Linked DNA regions of Homo sapiens: region 2 is linked to region 1. The links are contacts of gene promoters, found by promoter capture Hi-C in blood cells and fetal thymus (Javierre and others, 2016). All regions are on one chromosome and are shown on one strand. Each heading gives the region's core, a stretch centred on a gene start or on the middle of the fragment in contact. The rest is flanking DNA. Distances are from core to core; before and after follow the strand shown. Region 1 holds the start of ZMAT5 (zinc finger matrin-type 5). Region 2 holds the start of OSM (oncostatin M).

Region 1 (4,969 bases), core at 2,067-4,566:
GGTGGGTGGATCAGTTGAGCTCAGTAATTTGAGACCAGCCTGGCCAACATGGTGACACCCCTAAATTTTTTTAGTCTTTACAAAAAATCTATAAGAAAACCAGAAAACGAAATTAGTGGGGCATAGTGGCATGCACCTGTAGTCCCAGCTACTTGGAAGGCTGAGGTGGGAGTACCACTTGAGCCCAGGAGTTCGAGGCTGCAGTGAACTATGATCGTGCCACTACACTCCAGCCTGGGCAACAGAGTAAGACCCTTTCTCAAAATAATAATAGTAATAATAATAACCCAGCATGGTGGTGCACACCTGTAATCCCAGCTATTTGGGAGGTTGAAGCAGGTGAATTGCTTGAGCCCAGGAGTTCCAGGCTGCAAGGAACTATGATTATTACAACCAGGAATTATGTGCCACTGTACTCCAGCCTGGGCAATGGAGGGAGACCCTGTCTCTACAAAAATAAAACATAATAAAACCAAATGAAACAAGCCACACCTTTAACTCCCTGTGGTCTTCCCTACTCATTTCTCCCTCCTCTGAACTTCCCATCAGCCAGATTGGTTGGAAATGATTAGCAAGACCTAAGTAGTCTTCCCCTGGAGCCTCACAACTTCCTGCTCTGAGGGGCTCCCAGGATGCTTTGCAAATAGTATAAAACCACAGTAAGGATAACTCATGGATGTAAAGCATTTCACATTTTACCTTCTGATCCCCTAACCTGGTATTACTGTTGCTCTTTACAGATGAATTAAAAGAGAGTTAAAGCCTGATCAATGTCAGAGTCAGAGGCAGAGCCAGGCCTGCAATCCAATCCCTAGTTTTTGTTTGTTTTGTTTTCATTTGAGCTCCATCACCCAGGCTGGAGTGCAGTGACGCGATCTCAGTTAGTGGCAGCCTCCGCCTCCCAGGTTCAAGCGATTCTCCTGCCTCAGCCTCCCGAGTTGCTGGGATTACAAGCGGGTACCACCACACCTGGCTAATTTTTTTGTATTTTTAGTAGAGACAGGGTTTCACCATGTTGGCCAGGCTAGTCTTGAACTCCTGACCTCAAGTGATCCACCCACCTTAGCCTCCCAAAGTGTGGGGATTACAGGTGTGAGCCACCGCGCCTGGCCCCTAGTTTGTTTTTCATGGAGACGGTCTCACTATACGGCCCAGGCTGGTCTTCAACTCTTGGCCTCAAGTGTTCCTCCTGCCTTGGATTCCCAAAACACTGGGATTATAGGTGTGAGGCACCATCCCCAGCCCAGTCCCTGGTTTTGAATGCCACCCCTATCCGGATGACTCTTCTCAGGCTCATACCTCTCCTCTAAACTACAGATCCATGTCCTCATTTGCCTCTAGACACCTCCACTTGATGTCTGTTGGCTAGCTCAAACTGATGTGGCCAAAACAGAACTTAAGATCATTCTGTTGATTTTAAATTGTTGAGGTCAAAACTTAGATGTCAGCTGGACGCGGTGGCTCACACCTGTAATCCCGGCACTTTGGGAGACCGTGGCAGGCGGATCACTTGAGGCCAGGAGTTCAAGACCAGCCTGGCCAACATGGTGAAACCTTGTCTCTACTAAAAATACAAAAATGAGCTGGGCGTGTTGGCATCCGCTTGTAATCCCAGCTATTCAGTAGGCTGAGGCATGAGAATTGCTTGAACATGGGTGGCAGAGGTTGCAGTGAGCCAAGATTGTGCCACTGCACTCCAGCCGCACAGAGTGAGACTCTGTCTCAAAAAAAAACAAAAAACAAAAAACAAAAAAAACTTAGATATCCTCCTCAATTCCTCTTTCCTGTGCACCCTACACACATCTGCTAGCTTGCTCTGTCTGCCCTCCCTCCCAAATTACATCCCAAATCTGATCACTGCCCTGCTCCACACCCTAACCTAAATTACCACCCATCAGGCCGGGCATGGTGGCTCACGCCTGTAATCCCAGCACTTTGGGAGGCCAAGATGGGAGGATCACCTGAAGTCAGGAGTTTGAGACTAGCCTGGCCAACATGGTGAAACCCTGTCTCTACTAAAAAAAAAAATTAGCCAGGCATGGTGGCAGGCGCCTGTAATCCCAGCCACTCGGGAGGCTGAAGCAGGAGAATCACTTGAACCCGGGAGGCGGAGGTTGCAGTAAGCCGAGATAGCACCACTACACTCCAGTCTGGACGACAGACCGAGACTCCATCTCAAATAAATAACCACCCATCTTCCCTCAAATGATCTACTACAATAACTTCCCCCTTGCGGTCCACTCTCCATAGACCAGCCAGGATGATGACATTAAAGTGCACATTAAATCTTGTCGCATTTCTCCTGAAAACCCTTCAATGGCCTCCTAGTGCAACTAGAAAAAGACAAGACTCCTTGGCCAGACGCGGTGGCTCACGCACCTTGGGGGGCGAGGCAGGAAGATTGCTTGAGCCCAGGAGTTGGAGACCAGCCTGGGCAACACAGTGAGACCCTGTCTCTAAAAACAAAAACCAAAGAAAACAAGACTCCGTAAGGTGGGTTCCAAGGCCAGACATGAGCTGACCGGAGTCAACCTCTTCACAGTCCACTCTACTTCTTTCCCTCAAACATCCCAGGACTGTAGCTGCCTCAAGGCCTTTGCACCAACGTTTTCCTGTTCAACTCTACTATTCATTCAGGTCTCTAGTCAAGTGTCACCCCCCAGAGCAGCTACCCAGGGTGCAATGTCACCACCACTGCCTCTCCAGTCAACCAAAGCACTATCTGTTTGCTGTACTGCATCTCCCCACCCGCCCACTCCGTAGATTGAGCGCTCTGTGAGAGCAAGGACTTTGTTCACTGCTGGGTCCCCAGAGCAGGGACCAGAACAGGCGCTGGGAAAACATCTGTTGAATGCCCCAGGTACTCCAAAGCCCTTGCTCTTTTCAATCCCAAGCAGGTTCCAAGTCTCCAGCCTTCCAAACCAGGGTTGCCCGGTGCGAAGCCCAGGGGTGAGAGGAACAGGAAGCAGGGCAGATCCGTCCCTGCCCTTAATCCAGGGTGAAGGGTTTAACCTCCAGGACAAGACTTTTGCCGCAGGCTCCAGCTCCTGGCCTAGACTTGGGGCTGGTGCAGGGGACAAGGCGAAGAGTTGAGCCAGGGTCTCGGGAACCCAGCTGCCCTCGCCCCTCTATCCACACCCTATCCCAAGAAATGGTGCGTCCCGCCGCAGGGCGTACGCACAGAGAAGGAAGTGTTCAAGTCTTCCAGTGCGGAGAAAAGAGACTAGGACTCGCCCCTCGACGTCTCGCGGAAGGTACCTGGCTCCCCGGTGGCTGCAGCTCCGGGCTCCTCCTCCTGCGTCCTCGCGTCGCGTACTGCTTGCTGGGATTCGTAGTCTCGCCTTGGCCATCAGTTCGCCCTTCCCAGAGAGCTTTGGGAATCTAAGCCGGGACTGGGCGGAGGGCGGGGAGAAGGTGATGGCGCGCGAGGGCTTCTGGGAGTTGTAGTTTGACATATTCTAACAGCCAGGAATTCTGGAGAAGAAAAATTGGGTAATAAATCTTATCAGATTATCTGGGCTGTCCTGATATGAACCTTTTGAGTTTTTTTCCTCATTCCCAGGATAGGAATACCTCTGTGGTTCAAAACACGAAGGCTGAGATTCAGAGGAACTACAAATCCCATAAAGTGTTGCACGTCTAGGGCCTTTGGGGAACGAGGTCGGCCCCAGCGCAGGCGCGGTGGCGCGAGTTGGACTGTGAAGAAACATGGCGGCCGCGACGTTGACTTCGAAATTGTACTCCCTGCTGTTCCGCAGGACCTCCACCTTCGCCCTCACCATCATCGTGGGCGTCATGTTCTTCGAGCGCGCCTTCGATCAAGGCGCGGACGCTATCTACGACCACATCAACGAGGGGGTGAGGGCCTGTGCCATCCCTGACCTTGGACCCGCCTGAGGGGTGACAGTGGAGTAGAGGTGGGATGGGACTCAGTATACTTTTACCAGGAAGGGGGTAAGGGGTAAACCGTCGGCGTCTTCTGTCTCGAGTCCGCCGTCTGTCCCCTTGGCTTGATGTGAATTCTAAAACGTTAAGCGAGGTTAATATATTTCATTTTGCAGGGGTTGTAAGTATTGCTGTGTGCCACCCTACATACCCACTTGCCCATTATCAGAAGCAAAAACTAAAGGCTAGTGAGAGCAAAGGACTTACTAGCTGCACAGGAAGCCAGGGGCAAGTCAGGGCCAGAAACGGGACCCCTGTCTCTCAGAGTTTCAAGGGCAGATTTGAGCAGGCGACGGTCGTGAAAAGGACGTTAGACACCTTAGACGCCGTGGCTGAAGTTTCAGACGGCGCTTCTGGTCCCCAAGGCTTCCCACGTAGACAGTTGGTATTAATGGTTGAGAGTGGGGGCTATGAAATCAGAAAGCCTTGGATAGGAACACTGGTCCTTGTCACTTAACTGTGGCATTAAGTTGAGCAAGTTTCTTCTCTGAACTCCGTTTTAACTGTGAGATGGAGATATTAATAGTAACCTGAGCACGATTGTGAGGATTACATGAGATGCAGGCAGGGTGCCACATGCCTGGTAGGTGGTACCACTGAAAAATAATCATTGCTTACATTCCTCAGGAGAAAGTGGAAGCATGAGGTAGGAATCGCAACACATTTTTGACTTTTATGTATCATGCACTGTGCTAGGTGCAGTGCATGCTTTATATCGCTAAATTATGACTGTGCTGGAGTAGGCCTTATACATATAGCCCTGTTCCACCACTCACTTGTGTTTTTAATTTGAGACTGTCTGACTCTGCAGCCCGGGAAGGCACTGTCCACTAGTGCTATGCTGCCTGTGACCAGTGCAACTTCCTGCCCCATATGAAAGCATTGCTACTGTCCCATCTCTTGCAAGTGGTTCTGTTAACCACTCCCATTGATCTGGAGAGACATCCAAGTATGTTGTTATAACTCACCCATTTTCCTTGTGCTTTTTTTTGTTTTGTTTTGTTTTTTTGAGACAGGATCTCAC
Region 2 (5,597 bases), core at 2,059-4,558, 500 kb after region 1:
CCTCGGGGAGCAAGGCAGGGGGGCAGTCAGCCCGGCCATGAGTCAGCCTGTGTCATCAGACCCCTGAATCAATGGAAAGTCGGTCCCGCGTGGCCCGCCCGGCCACCCCACTGGGCCTGGGGAACTTGGGGCTGAGGTGGGAGCGCAACAGCCTGACTCTGTCTCCCAGCCTGGAGGAGGTAGAGGGGTCTGCCCAGCTCCCACCTCTTAAAGTGCACTTCTCAGTGGCTAGTAGCAGAGGGGAACAGGTTTGGGGACCCGGGAGCTGTCATCCTGCGATGGTTCCTCTCATCCACAGAGCACCTGCCGCATCCTTCACCGGCAAGGGGTGCTCTCGAGGCTACCGGGGCAGCTGTCCCCTGGTCATGAGTCTCTTGCCTTTCCTGGAGGGTCTGGTCCTGCGCACCCCCTTCCTCAGGGCCTGGTGGGGGCTGTGTCTCCGGCTCCGGTTCGGGCTCTCCCCCCACTTGCTGAAGACCCGCCCCACTGAGTGCATGAAGCGATGGTAGCCATGCAGGAACCTGCAGCCCTCCAGCTTGCGCTGAAAAGCATCCGAGGCAGGGGTGGGGGTGGGCGGCTGAGAGGCCCCCCGGCCAGCCTTCGTGGGCTCAGCCGTGTCTGAGTTGTCCAGCAGCTGGGCCATGCAGTAGATGTTGTTCCTGAGCCCGAGGATGTTCGGCCTCGCCATCTGCAGCTTCTCCAAGTCCTCGATGTTCAGCCCAGACCTCTCCAAATCCTGGGCCTTGGGGAGGCGCTGCTCTAAGTCGGCCAGTCTGTGCAGGACGCAGCCCAGTGTGGCATTGAGGGTCTGCAGGAAGCCCCGCCTGCCCAGCCCCCTCAGGGTCTCCTCACTGGGGAAGGCCCCGGGGCGCTCCCTGCAGTGCTCTCTCAGTTTAGGAACATCCAGGCCTTGGATACGTATCTGGCGGGAACAGGAGGATCACAGGGTGAATGCTGAGGATCCGGACCACACTCACAGACAAGTAAGCCTTGAAATGCTAGACCTCATGCACCCCAATCCAATCTCCCACTGGACAGATCCGGAAACTGAGGCCCGAGAGGGAAGAGGACCCCAAGATCACTGCAGGCAAGGTCGGAGTGATGTTGGGGGGCTGGTGGGATGCCCGTGGGGAATGAAGAGCTTCAAGAGGGCTGGACTCTGTCTTGCTCACTGCTACGTCCCAGTGCCTAGACCAGAGCCTGGCAGGTGTGCAGGAAACACACTGAGTAAGCAGGTGAGCATGGTGATGGTGTCCGGAGTCCCGCCCCGGGACCACAGAGCTAGGAAAGCTGGAGGGCCAGCCTTAGCTCCTCAGGGTTAAGGCTGGAATAACATAGCGACTCAGTTCCCCGACCTGGCCATATGGAGTGGGGCTAGGCCTGTCCTCCCTGCTTCTCACTCCCTTCCTAACCCCATAGTTCTCTGAGACTCAGATGCCACAAGGGCCCAGGTGCTTACATAGGGGTCCAGGAGTCTGCTGGTGTCCTGCATGAGATCTGTCTGCTTCTGGAGCTGGCCAAGGAGCACGCGGTACTCTTTCGAGCAGCTGCCTATAGCCGCCATGCTCGCCATGCTTGGAAACAGGAGTGCAAGGACCAGACCTAAGGCAGAGAAGAGGGGTGTCACCTGACTTGGTGAGGAAAGCCACAGATGGGAGCCTCGGGGAGGGGGTTCAAGAGGGCCTTGAAAGGTGCCTCCTTCATCCCAGACTTTGTGTAGTGGAGGGCGGGGGCTGGGCACTGTGTGGCACGGTGTGTGCCCAGGTGTGCCCACCAAGGCCACCATCATCTCCCCAGTAAGTCACTGCCCAGGGCCTGACACAGCAAGCAGTGGGAGGGACTGAGACAGTGGCTGCGATTTACCAAGTAGGTCTTTGAGCAAAGGCTGCAGTGCCTGGCCGGATCCCAGTCCTGCCTACAGCACGGTTCTAACCTCGGGAGCTGACTCTCTGCAAGGTGGGACTGGCTCCCTGCAAGACCACTGGGCTAAAGACCGGCCACTGCCCTAGGACCTGCCTTGTCAGCTGCTCTGGCCATCCAGGTAGATGGGCCTGAGAGGGCTTCAGGGCAGGCAGCCCGGGAGCAGCTTGTGTCCTCAGCTCTGTCTAGAACCAGGAGAGGCTGCCTTTTCAACCAGAGGTGCAGCCTGGAACAGATGTGGAAGACCTTCCAGTCCATGTCCCCACTTTCCTGACAGGTAAACCAAGTCTCAGGAGAAGGTCCTACTCAGGTCACACAAGGCCAGGGCTCTCCCCTGACCTCTCTTGCCTCCCTCCTCTCTCCATAAGTGGCTCCTTCTGTCAGGCCCACCAGGGATGCTGTGAGCCTGTCAGAAGGTGTTGGGGGCGGGTACAGTTACCGCTCACCACCACCCCCAACGGGGCACCGGCAGCCACGTGGTCGGAAGGGGCCTATGGCGCAATGGCCCGGAAGGCAGTGACACCATCGTTCCCGTCCTAAGAACCATCCGGCCCTTTGGGGAAGACTGGCTGTTGGGGAGGGCCAAGGGGCCAGGCACCCAGGCTTAGCGACCCCACGGCACCCTCGCCGCCTCCCCAGGTATCTGCTGCCGGGCTCTGGCAGGGGCCTGTGCCTGTGGCAGCGCACGTGGGACTGGGGTTTCTGTGTGGCTGTGCATCTGGGTCTGTGTGCGGCGTGAGGGAGACCTGTTCCGTTCACCATGGGGACTCTGGTCTGCATGTGGGGGTTCCTGGGCTGGTGAGATCCAGGGCTGTAGATGACGTCATATGGCTGTGTGCGCATGTGGCCATGTGGGTGTGGCTGTGCATGCTGTGTGATTGTGTGGGCCCTGGGGCCCCCAGGCCTGGCTGACTTTCTATTCATCCCGGGCAAGCTGGAGGCCCCACAACCCCTCCACACCTCACACCACTTCCCTGCCCAGCTTCTGAGCCTCCCTCTCCTGCCCAGCCTCTTTGCCCATCCTATTCTCTCACCCCCTGGTTCCCAGAGTTGCCTCTACATCTTGACATCACCTCCCCCTGGAAGCCTTCCAGGGATGCCCCTTCTCTACCTGTGGAGATGCCAGGTTCTCAGTGGACCACTCTCTCTGCCTGACCTCCTGGCTCTCTCCCCTTCTCAGCATCCTTCTGCCTGGCGCCTGGCCTCCCCAGTTCCCGGAGGGCAGAGGGTGCCTCTGCTCCCCACCGGCACCCGTGGGCAGACCCAGCAGGCGGGTTCTGGCGGGGAGGAAGGAAGTACTTACTGAGCAGCGTCCTCTGTGTGAGCAGTACCCCCATGCTGGGTGCCCGTGCTCCGGCCCGCGCCCGCTGGGGGTGACACCTCTCGGCTGGGAGCCCTGCAGGCTGGCAGCCACTTTATGCCCGCTGGGGCGATTGGCCAACACCTCATGAGGTGGGTGGGGATGGGGAGGGGGGAGGGCAGGCCTTCTGGGAACATGACCCCAAAAACCAAAATTTCCACGGGCGGCCAATGGGCGCAGGGCGCGGTGTATGCCCGCTCCTCCTCCTGTTTTCTTCGAATTCGTTCTTCGAGGTCAGCCCTACGCCCAAGGATGATGTAAAACCGCAGCCTCAGCCTTCCTAGGGTGAGTGGGGAGGAAAAGGGTCCATGCCATCTTCAGGGAACTGGGCCAGGGATGGGCAGGAGGGACTTCGAGCTGGGCCTCTGGAGGCCCCAGGCCAGTCTTGGCCCAGGAGCCATTGGCCTCACAGGACACGGTGGTTGGGGGCTGAGGGGAGCGAGACATCTTCCTTCTTGAGTGCCCTTCCTGCCCTCTCGCCGGGGCTGTTGGGACATCTGTGAGCGGAAACCACCGGGCTCTGGGCACAGAGCCAGACGCAGGCTGGCAGCCCCGAGATTGTGGTTCAGGCCCCAGGACCAGCATCCCCCAGCCCGGCTCCCGACGGTCTCCTTTCCCCCATCGTGCACCCTCTGCCAGGCCCACTCCCCAAAGCCAGGCCTTGTCTTTGTAGGCAGGCTCCACTGGGGAGAACTGGACACTTGGAGCAAGAGAAACAGGAGGCCAGGGTTCAAGCCTGCTGAGGTGCTGTGTGACCTGAGGCAAGTCACTTAACCTCTCTGGGCCTCAGAGACCCACAACTATAAAATGAGGAGGAGAAAAGCCTTTCCCAGCCCACCTCACAGGGTTGCTGCCAGCATGGACATAAAAGGAAAAGACCTCTGAAGGAAAAAGCAAAGATGAAGGTCTGATTCCAAGTATTAGCTGTCGAGGGGGCGGGATGGGGGAAGGAGGAGATGGGGAAGCTGTGAGCTCAGAGGGGAAGCCGGGGAGGGGGAGTTGCCGCCTTGACAGTTGGGGACCAGGTTTCACTTTCTCTGAAAGATAGCGATCTTAGGTTGGTCCTCTGCGAAAGGGCCCTGGGAACAGCGCCTCCCTAGTCAAACTGCTACTTTACTGTGGGGTAAACTGAGGCCTGGGTGAAGGCAGACAGGGAGGCCAAGAGGCTGGCCCAGGCCTATAGACCCTGCCTGGTCAGCACATCTCCCAGGCCCAGAGGAGGGTCCTTGGCCTGCACCCTAAGAAGCCCGGGTGGGAGGAGGCCCTCAGGAGTCTGGGGAGTCAGGGTGGGACTCCTGGAGGCTGCCAGGGAGGCCTGAGCTGCTCCAGCTGGAGGGAGCATGGGGTCTGGGGCGCCTGAGCAAGGAGAGCTGGGGCAGCCAGAAAGGAGGAGGTTGGATGCACCCCTGTCCATGCCTGCTCCCGATGCCCACTGTGGCCACCAAGGCAGTTGCCACCCATTCTCCCCATCACTCATTTATTCATTCGACAAACCTTTATTTGGCTCCATGCTGCACCAGCCACTCCCAGGTCTGAGGATCACGTAGTAGGCAAAAATAGGCGACCCCACGCCCAGGAGGCTGCTCTTCAGCCCCTACCCACTCCCCGGCACCCAGGCTGGGACTCACCACACCAGGCCTCATACCTCCCCCTCACCACCCCCAGGGGCCAGTTCTGGATTCTCATCCTGAGAATGTCGCTTCCGCTGAAGTCCTCATCTCTGTGCCCACCCCCACAATGCTGTTTCCTGGGGCCATGCCAAGAGGGGATCCTTCTCCATTTCACATCCCTGATCTCGTCTTTTTTTCTCTTTTTTTAAATGCAGGATCTTGCTCTGTCACCCAGGCTGGAGTGCAGTGGCGCCATTGTAGGTAGCTCACTGTGGCCTCCAGCTCCTAAGCTGAAGCAAGGCTCCCCGCCTTAGTCTCCTGAGTAGCTGAGACCACAGGCATGCATCACTATGCCCAGCTAATTTTTTTATTTTTTGTAGAGACGGGGTGTCACTATGTTGCCCAGGCTGATAACAAACTCCTGGGTTCAAATGATCCTCCTGCCTTGGCCTCCCAAAGTGCTGGGATTGCAAGCGTGAGCCACAGCACCCAGCCACCGATCTCATCCTGCAACAGCCAGGGGAGAGAAGCCGCTGGGCAGTGACACCTCAGCTCACTTCAGTGAGGAGCTCGAAGCTCTGGGAAGTTTAGGGGCTGGCTCAAGGAAGGAGCGCCAGATCTGAGCAGAGGGGTCTAGGCCATTTTCAGCTGTGGCTGACCGACCACCACGCTTGGTGAGAAACAGCCACATGCCTTTATCTTATTCT

What was found. Contacts are between HindIII fragments. The CHiCAGO score rates a contact against its expected background, and 5 or more counts as called.
Region 2: a contact is called between the fragment with the promoter of OSM here and the fragment with the promoter of ZMAT5 in region 1, in 1 of 17 cell types (neutrophils). The highest score is 5.3, in neutrophils.

The regions. Positions count from the first base shown.
Region 1 is chr22:29,763,691-29,768,659 of GRCh38, forward strand. It overlaps ZMAT5 (zinc finger matrin-type 5), which reads right to left and starts at 3,317. Exons shown (of 6, transcript NM_001003692.2): 1 at 3,182-3,317. UQCR10 (ubiquinol-cytochrome c reductase, complex III subunit X) reads left to right here and starts at 3,679. Exons shown (of 2, transcript NM_013387.4): 1 at 3,679-3,858. The coding sequence starts at 3,709. RefSeq lists enhancers at 2,552-3,201, 3,171-3,400, 3,202-3,851, 3,761-3,810. The HindIII fragment of the contact is 8,045 bases long and covers 1-4,969 here.
Region 2 is chr22:30,263,543-30,269,139 of GRCh38, forward strand. It overlaps OSM (oncostatin M), which reads right to left and starts at 3,309. Exons shown (of 3, transcript NM_020530.6): 1 at 3,224-3,309; 2 at 1,460-1,602; 3 at 1-922. The coding sequence starts at 3,257. The coding sequence ends at 341. RefSeq lists enhancers at 1-288, 289-1,087, 2,473-2,552, 2,613-2,712. The HindIII fragment of the contact is 8,742 bases long and covers 1-5,597 here.